2 separate regions of the Homo sapiens genome follow, and region 1 is linked to region 2. The links are contacts of gene promoters, found by promoter capture Hi-C in human tissues and cell types (Jung and others, 2019). All regions are on one chromosome and are shown on one strand. The core of a region is centred on a gene start or on the middle of the fragment in contact, and the rest is flanking DNA. Distances in the headings are between cores, read along the strand shown. Region 1 overlaps ATXN2 (ataxin 2). Region 2 holds the start of TRAFD1 (TRAF-type zinc finger domain containing 1).

The links. Contacts are between HindIII fragments. The study calls those that stand out against the background at their distance.
Region 1: a fragment that was not itself captured here is called in contact with the fragment with the promoter of TRAFD1 in region 2 in 1 of the 25 tissues and cell types used here (H1 embryonic stem cells).

The regions. Positions count from the first base shown.
Region 1 is chr12:111,584,462-111,589,220 of GRCh38, reverse strand. All of the region lies in intron 1 of ATXN2 (ataxin 2), which reads left to right. Among named protein-coding and RNA genes, the nearest start is that of ATXN2, 12 kb to the left of the region's middle. The HindIII fragment of the contact is 3,592 bases long and covers 1-3,394 here.
Region 2 is chr12:112,122,942-112,127,757 of GRCh38, reverse strand. TRAFD1 (TRAF-type zinc finger domain containing 1) reads right to left here and starts at 2,198. Exons shown (of 12, transcript NM_006700.3): 1 at 2,140-2,198. RefSeq lists enhancers at 1,672-1,741, 2,152-2,201, 2,179-2,473. The HindIII fragment of the contact is 10,449 bases long and covers 1-4,816 here.

The DNA of each region.
Region 1 (4,759 bases), core at 349-2,848, 540 kb after region 2:
GCCTCAGCCTCCTGAGTAGCTGGGATAACAGCTGTGTGCCACCATGCCTGGCTAATTTTTGTATTTTTAGTAGAGATGGGGTTTCATCATGTTGGCCAGGCTGGTCTCGAACTCCTGACCTTAGATGATCCACCCGCCTCGTCCTCCCAAAGTGCTGGGATTACAGGTGTGAGCCACCGTGACCAGTTTGGTTTAGTTTTTTTTTTTTTTTTTTTTTTTTTTTTTTTTTGAGAAATCTCGCTCTGTCGCCCAGGCTAGAGTGCGGTGACACAATCTCAGCTCACTGCAAGCTCCACCTCCCAGGTTCATGCCATTCTCCTGCCTCAGCCTCCCGAGTAGCTGGGACTACATGCGCCCGCCACCATGCCCGGCTAATTTTTTTTATGCATTTTAAGTAGAGATGGGGTTTCACTGTGTTAGCCAGGATTGTCTCAATCTCCCGACCTCTTGATCTGCCCGCCTCGGCTTCCCAAAGTGCTGGGATTATAGGCATGAGCCACCGCGTCCGGCCTGGTTTGGTATTTTTTTTATGAGTCTGGGTTGTTTATGAAAACTTGTCACAGCTGTTAACCTTAACTTTTTTTTTTTCTTTTTTTTCCGAGACGGAGTCTCGCTCTGTCACCTAGGCTGGAGTGCAGTGGTGCGATCTCGGCTCATTGCAACCTCTGCCTCCCAGGTTAAAGCGATTTTTCTGCCTCAGCCTCCTGAGTAGCTGGGACTGCAGGCACGCACCATCTCGCCTGGCTAATTTTTGTATTTTAGTAGAGATGGGGTTTCACCATATTGGCCAGGCTGGTCTGGAACTTCTGGCCTCAAGTGATCCACCTGCCTTGGCCTCCCATGCCTGGCAACCTTAACTTTTTATTTGCTGGTAATTATTTGTGTTTGCATTCATGTGAAAATTTGAAATTCTCATTAACATTTAAAGATTCTTACATAGATTGCTTGTAATTTTAACCCTGAAGTTGTGTCAAGTGACTTTACAATGTCAATTTGTTTTATTTATTTATTTATTTATTTATTTATTTATTTTTGTGATAGGATCTGGCTCTGTTGCTAAGGCTGGAGTGCAGTGTTGCAAATACGGCTCACTGCAACCTCTGTCTCCCGGGTTCAAGCCATCCTCCCACCTCAGCCTCCCAAGTAGTTGGAACTACTGGTGCGCCCCACAGTGCCTGCCTAGTTTTTTTGTATTTTCAGTAGATGTGGAGTTTTGCCATGTTGATCTTGAACTCATGGCCTCGAGTGATCCACCCCACTTAGGCCTCCTAACATGCTGGTGTTACAGGTGTGAGCCACTGTGTCCAGCCCGAAAATGTCAGTTTCGTGCCATGATTAATAGCTAACTACATTTTGGGAATGTAATAAAATTTCATTCTATAATGAAGTCTTTGTAAAACTCATTAGTTGTGGTATGAGGCTTGTCGGCAATATAAGTGAACGTGGTTTATTTTTATTAACTGTATCAGAACTTTAGAATGTTGGTCTCCTGAAACCATTGCCTTGAGAGGCTTTATTGAACAGTGTTGCCAATGATCAGTTTTTTTTTAAATTTCCTTTTTTTTGAGACTGAGTCTTACCCTGTTGGCCAGGTTGGAGTATAGTGGTATGGTCATGGCTCACTGCAGCCTCAACATCCTGGGCTCAAGCAGTCCTCCTACCTCAGTCTCCCGAGTAGCTGGAACTACAGGTGTATGCCACCATGCCTGGCTTTTGTATATTTTGTAGAGACAGGGTTTAGCCATGTTGCCCAGGCTGGTCTCAAACTCTTAAATTCAAATGATCCACCCACCTAGTTTTCCCAAAGTGCTTTAATTACATGTGTGAGGCACCGTGGCTGGCCAGGTCAAATATTTTTCATTGACGTTTTTCATATTGCTTTTTAAAGTCATGTTAAAATATTCTTAATAATTTTTCTAAGTGGAATTAATCTTGATTATAATTTTAGTTTTTTATAAAGGGCGGGTTTTGAAACAAGTACTGCATTTTTCTTTTCGGGTTTATAAACATTTGCTGTGGACTTTGTGCAGTTAACTATTTTCATTCCTGAAACACATTTCGAAATCAGGAATTGAAGACTAAATGTCTTTTCACTGAAGCTTGAGCAGATTTTAGAAAGGGGAGTTCTTTTTTTTTTTTTTTTTTTTGGTAGAAATGGGGGTCTTGTTATGTTGCCCAGGCTGGCCTCCAACTTCTGGGCTTAAACTGTCCTCCTGCTTTAGCCTCTGGTCTGGAGAGTTCTTTATGGCCTCTTTGAGAACTTTTACTTTACACATGATTCTATCTAGCTTTCTTTTCTGATGTACATATTGGCAGCAAGTAGAAAAGCAATGTTTTCAGAGGCAGATATATTAACAGCAATGAGAAATAACAGTAGCGTGATAGAAAGTTGAAAGACTTAGCTGGGTGCGGTGGCTCACGCTTGTAATCCCAGCACTTTGGGAGGCCAAGGAGGGTGGATCACTTGAGGTCAGGAGTTCGAGACCAGTCTGGCCAACATGGTGAAACCCTGTCTCTACTGAAAAACAGAAAAAGGGCCGGGCGTGGTGGCTCACCCCTGTAATCCCAGCACTTTGGGAGGTTGAGGAGGGCGGATTACAAGGTCAAGAGATTGAGACCATTCTGGCCAACAGGGTGAAACCCCATCTCTACTAAAAATACAAAAAAATTAAATGGGCGTGGTGATGTGTGCCTGTAGTCCCAGCTACTCGGGAGGCTGAGGCAGGAGAATTGCTTGAACCCGGGAGGCAGAGGTTGCAGTGAGCCGAGATCGGGCCACTGCACTGACGACAGAGGGAGACTCCGTCTAAAAAAAAAAAAAAAAAAAAAAAACCAGACTTGGGGCTGGGCGGGCGCCTGTAATCCCAGCTACTTGGGAGGCTGAGGCAGGAGAATCGCTTGAACCCGGGAGGTGAAGGTTGCAGTGAGCTCAGATTGTGCCACTGTGCCCCAGCCTGGGCCACAGAGCAGAGTGAGACTCTGTCTCAAAAAAAAAAAAAAAGTTTGGAAGACTGGTGGCTGGGCATGGTGGCTCACACCTGTAATCCCAACACTTTGGGAGGCTGAAGCAGGCAGATTACCTGAGCCCAGGAGTTCAAGTCCAGCCTGGGCAACACAGGGAAACCCCATCTCAACAAAAAATATTAATACAAAAAATTTAGCCAGTCATGGTCGTGCACTTCTGTAGTCTCAGCTACTTGGGAGGCTGAGGCAGGTGGTTCACTTAAGTCTGGATGTCGAGGTGAGCCATGATTGCACCACTGCACTCCAGCCTGGGCGTTAAAATGAGACCTTATCTCAAAAAAACAAAGCAAAGAGCCTGGGAACTACTAAAATGGGAACTACTAAAAAACAGACACAAGAGCTCAACAAGTATACCATTCTGGGAGGTTTTTTTTTTTTTTTTTTTTTTTTTTTTTGAGATGGAGTTTTGCTCTTGTCACCCAGGCTGGAGTGCAATGGCGCCATCTCTGCTCACTGTAGTTCCGCCTCCCAGGTTCAAGCAGTTCTCCTGCCTGACTCCTGAGTAGCTGGGAGTACAGATATTGGTCACACACCGGGTTAATTTTTGTATTTTTAGTAGAGACGGGGTTTCCCCATTTTGGCCAGGCTGGTCTCGAACTCCTGACCTCAGGTGATCCGCCTGCTTCAGCCTCCCAAAGTGCCGGGACCACAGGCGTGAGCCACCGCACCTGGCTTTTTTTTTTTGACATAGAATCTTGTTCTGTTGCCCAGGCTGGAGTGCAATGGTACAATCTTGGCCCACTGCAACCTCTGCCTCCCAGCTTCTAGCGATTTTCCTGCCTCTGACTCCTGAGTAGCTGGGATTACGGGTGCCCGCCACCACACCCGGATAATTTTTGTATTTTTAGTAGAGATGGGGTTTTGCCATATTGGCCAGGCCGGTCTTGAACTCCTGACCTCAGATGATCCACCTGCCTAGGCCTCCCAAAGTGCCGGGATTACAGGCGTGAGCCACCACTCCCGGCCTGGGAGTTTTGACTGTAAGTTTATAGCTGTATATCTTAGGCCCTAAGGGCATTACTGTTTTATAGCACAGTGTAGTTAGTTAATGTGCTCATAATGGTGACTCATAACACCAGGTTAAATGATTTTTTATATCTCCCAAAGAAGTATTTTTCAATCTGCAGATCATGACCCCTTAGTAGATTGTGAAACACATTAGTGGATTATGACAAGCATTTTTAGAAAAATGAAAAAGAATAAGAAGTGTTAGGATGCATTGCATTATTGAAATAATTGTTTTTGAGATGGAGTTTCGCTCTTAGTTGCCGAGGCTGGAGTGCAATGGCCCGATCTGCCTCCCGGGTTCAAGTGATTCTCCTACCTCAGCCTCCTGAGTAGCTGGGATTACAGACATGCTCCACCATGCCTGGCTAATTTTGTATTTAGTTTTAGTAGAGATGGGGTTTCTCCATGTTGGTCAGGCTGGTCTTGAACTCCTGACCTCAGGTGATCCACTTGCCTCGGCCTCCCAAAGTGCTGGGGATACAGGCATGAACCCCTGTGCCCGGCCTAATTTTTGTATTTTTAGTAGAGATGGGGTTTCACCATGTTGGCCAGGATAGTCTTGATCTCTTGACCTCGTAATCTGCCCACCTCGACTCCCAAAGTGCTGGGATTACAGGTGTGAGCCACTGCACCCAGCTGCCAAGAATTGTTTTAAGCTTTGGTTTGAGTTAATGTATATATACCGCATTGTAATTCAAAATGTAATTTTTGGCCAACTCTGGGCACA
Region 2 (4,816 bases), core at 949-3,448:
CTAAAAAGAGCTTGCAGTGAGCCGAGATCACGCCACTGCACTCCAGCCTGGGCGACAGAGCGAGACTCCCTCTCAAAAAAAACAAAAAACAAAAAAGCAAAAAATTAGGTGGGTATGGTGGCACATGCCTGTAATCTCAGCTACTTGGGAGGCTGGGGTGGGAGGCTGAGGTAGTCCCAGCTACTTGGGAGGCTTGAGCCCAGGAGGTCGAGGCTACAGTGAGTGAGTTGTGATCACACCACTGCACTCCAGCCGGGGTGACAGAGTGAGACCCTGTCTCAAAGAAAAAGAAGACCATACTGTGTGCCACTGTGCCCTGGCACTAAAAATACTTTACAAAATAAGGAAATATAGTCTCTGATAAAGCGATTTAGTGGTAGAGAAAAACAATAAGCAAAAAAATACATATAACTTGAGTATTGTGATGGAAAAGTATACTGACAAATAAATGGGGGCGGAATAGAGGCAAATCTACTTTAGGTAGATAAGAGTGGTCAGGGAAGAACTTTCTGGGGAGACGACATTTAAATTAAGAACTGAAGTACAAGAGCCAACCACGAAAAGACAAAGATAGAGGATGGGAATGCGGGGAAATCCATCCAGGCAGTGGGAAGGGCAAAAGGCCTAAAAGCAATGAAAGAGAAAGTAAAGGCAGATCTGGAAGAGCATAATAAAAAAGGGGAATGACTCAAGAAGGTCTTGTCATATCAGACAGAAAGAATATTGGATTCGATTCCAAGCTCAATGGTAAACCACTGAAGGGCTTTAAACTAGGGAATGACATAATTCAAGACACCCATTCTGGGCTGGGCGCAGCAGCTCACGCCTGTAATCCCAGCACTTTGGGAGGGCGAGGTGGGCAGATCACTGGAGGTCTGGGGTTCGAGACCAGCCTGGCCAACATGGCAAAACCAAGTCTCTACTAAAAATACAAAAATTAGTTGGGCGTGGTGACGGGCGCTTGTATCCCAGCTACTCAGGAGGCTGAGGCAAGAGAATCACTTAAACCCAGGAGGCGGAGGCTGCAGTGAGCTGAGATCTCGCCACTGCACTCCAACCTGAACAACAGAAGGTGACTCCATCTCAAAAAAAAAAAAAGATATTCACTCTGATATGAAATGGCAACTAAGGAAGGCTGTCCGACTGATTTCAGGTGTGCTCTATTCCAGCCCACTCTGGCCAACTCTAAGGCCAGAGCTCAGATGTAGCAGGTGCTTGCTTTTCTAGATGCAAGGAGACTGGGGGTAGCCTGCAGGGTCCCCCTCTGGGGGTCAAGGTCTGGCTGGTTCTGCCAGATTTAACCTCTCTGGGCCTCAGATTCTTCAGGCAGAGGACTGACAATACTTCAAAGGGTCAAGGAAACGGGCGAATGCACGGAAGAGTTGAGGCACAGAAAAGTCTTCAAGCTTATAAGGAGCCTGTTGGGGGTCAGCTAGATCTCTCTAGTCCGCAGAGGGGACCGTCCCTCTGCCCGAGGCGGCGGAGCTTCCCCTGCCGGGTCCAGATACCCCAAGGCAGTTTCCAATCGCCCCCGTCCCCAGGAAGGTCGGTGATGGGGAGTGAAGAAGTAAGCGGCTTCTCAAATAATAGCAGTTGCCAAACGCTTACCGGGAAAATCTTTTAATCCCGACTACAATCCTAAGAGGTGAAAGTCTTGGTCCCCACTTTAGAGGCTACGAAAGCGGAAGGCCACCTGAGTTTTCCACAGCACCAGCGGGTCGGAGTGCGAGCTCGGACTCGGGTCCTTCGGCTTCGAGGCCGCATTAGGCCACTCGCGACCCCCCACGCCGGCAGCTCGAGGCTCGGACTCTAGGCCCAGGCCGGCACTGAGCCCAGCTCCGCCCGGGACGCGGTGGTCACAGCGGCGCTGCGAACGACGCCCGCTTCCCGGCTCACCAGACCAACCTAGGCCGCGAAGGGGGCGGCGTCGCCGGGGGCTGCCAAGGCGCCGGTTCCCTGAGGAGAAAGCGCGGCCTCCTCCAGGTGCCTGAGATGCCGCCGCGCGGGCATCCTCTCCTCACAGCCGCGACCCCGGGCCCAGAGACCCCTCGCCCACACACCCCTCCCTTGGGATGCTGGACCCTTCCTAAACTGGAGGCCACAGGGGATCTCCAGCCGCGTGCCGCCGCTACACCTCACCAGGGACGAGAGGAGAAACGCTGAGTTGACACACTAGCTGCAGACACGGAGCCTCCTCTGTCAGACCCCGCACTGAACAACGGCCCTCAGAGCTGCCTCACCACTTCCGCCCATCGCGGAGGAGCGCGCCCATTGGCCAGGGGCGGCTCCAGCTGTCGGCCCATTGGATAACACCGTTGTCGCTCCCAGGGCCCCGCCTTCTGCGCGTCGATTGGCTCCCTGGAGGCCCACGGGGGCGTGTCCCTGGAAGCCCTGGCCCCTGCACATCTGGAACCAGAGGCACGAAGCTGAGCTGTGAGCCTGTTGCTGAGTTTAGCAACTGTCCCCGACACAGGCTAATAATATTTGCATGAATAATTCTGTACAAACATTACTAATATGCTTAATATATTGAGATAATTAATGGTATTTGTTCTTTTCTCATGGGCCGTTAATACTTATTAGTCATTCTTATTGCTATGATAATGCCCTTGTGCAAGACTTCTGCAGATCTGTGACCATATTTTTTGAGCACTTTGCTTTTTTGCAGTGGAAGAATGAGAGCCTGAGATGCAGGTTTGAGAGCTAGTTTCTCCACTTGCTGCCTGAATGGATTCCCTGAGCTTCTCTTACCTCATGTATAATAAAGGAGAGAATAATTATATAAGTATAACCAAGCACATATTACAAACCAACTTATAATTATATAAGTATAACCAAGCACATATTACAAACAATACAGCAATTTAAAATTATGATTCCATTGCAGATTATAATTGCAAAATATGGAGGCCAAGGCGGGTGGATCTCTTGAGCTCAGGAATTAGAGACCAGCCTGGGCAATATAATGAAACCATATCTCTACAAAAAAAATACAAAAATTAGCCAGGCGTGGTGGCACGCACCTGTAGTTCCACCTCCTTGGGAGGCTGAGGTGGAAGGATCCCTCGAGCCCAGGAGGCAGGGCTGGAGTGAGCCCTGATCATGCTACCGCACTCCAGCCTGGGGGACAGAGAAAGACCCCGTCTCAAAAATAATATAATATAATATAATATAATATAATATAATATAATATAATATAATTGCAAAATGTTAATGAGATAGTACTAAGCAAGAAAAGCATCTAACAGGCTGGGCGCGGTGGCTCACGCCTGTAATGCCAACACTTTGGGAGGCAGAGGCTGGTGGATCACCTGAGGTCAGGAGTTCAAGACCAGCCTGGCCAACATGGTGAAACACCGTTTCTACTAAAAATACAAAAATTAGCTGGCCGTGGTGGCAGGCGCCTATGATCCCAGCTACTTGGGAGGCTGAGACAGGAGAATCGCTTGAACCCAGGAGGTGAAGGTTGCAGTGAGCCGAGATTGAGCCACTGCACTCCAGCCTGGGCAACAAAATCAAAACTCCGTCTCAAAGCAATATTTATAACAAGATAAAATATTTAGCTTAAATATGCAATATAACTTGTGTGATTCCAAACATATAAAGTTTAAAACCAGGGAAAATTAACCTAAAGTGAGAGAAGTAAGTAACTGGTTCCATTCAGAGGGTATATAGCCTGTAAGGAGATATGAGAAAGATTTTCTAGAAATGTTTATATCTTGATCAGCAAAGTGATTAACACAGATGGATTAATTAGTAAATAGTTATTAAGCTACACACCTATATCTTAAGCACTTTACATTGTATGTTACATTTTAATAACAAAACTTACTGGAGTTCAAAAGAAAGCACAATCATTAACAGTTAAAAAGCAATCAGAAAAAATGTGTATTAATATGAATTAAGTATATTAATGTATTAAGTATATATAAAGAAAAAAGATAACCATATAGTGTGTTCTTTTATGAATAAGGTGTTTTAACTCAGCATAATGTTTTTGAGGTTTATCCATGCTGTTGATAATATCAAGTCTATTCCTTTTCAGTGCCAAGTAGCATAGCACATGGATATGCCACAATTTATACTGACAAACATTAGAGCTGGTTCTAGTTTTTGGCCAGGCATGGTGGCTCACGCCCACAATCCCAGCACTTCGGCAGGTCAAGGTGGGTGGATCGCCTGAGCTCAGGAGTTCCAGACCAGCCTGGGCAACATAACAAAACCCTGTCTCTACAAAAAATACAAAAATGTAGCCAGGCGTGGTGGCTCATGCGTGTAGTCCCAGCTACTTGGGAGGCTAAGGTGAGAAGATTGCTTGAGCCTGGGAGGCAGAGGTTTCAGCGAGCTGATATGGCACCACTGCACTCCAGCCTGGGTGACAGAGCAAGACTCCATCTCAAAAAAAAAAATTGATTCTAGTTTAAGCAGTAGTAACCATTCTTGTGCAAGTCTTTGGGGATATATGTTTTTATTTCTCTCAGATAAACACTTGGAAGTGGGATTGCTGGATCATACGGTAAGTCTATGTTTTAACTTTACAAGAAACTACCAAACTGTTTTCCGAAGTGATTGCACAACTAAACGTTCCCAACAGTAGTGTAGGAGAGTTTCAGTTGCTCCGTATAGTCATCCACTTGGTATAAACACATTTTGAATAAATAAACAGGAGAATGGCAGTCCTGTCTTCCGTTGCCTGAGTGACCCAGAAGCTCCTCTAAATTCATAGTTCACAGTGGGAGGAGACAACAAGGTCCAGGGTAGCAAGGAATGAACTGAAATAATGATAAGCTCAAATTTCACTTAACCCCTGGGGTGC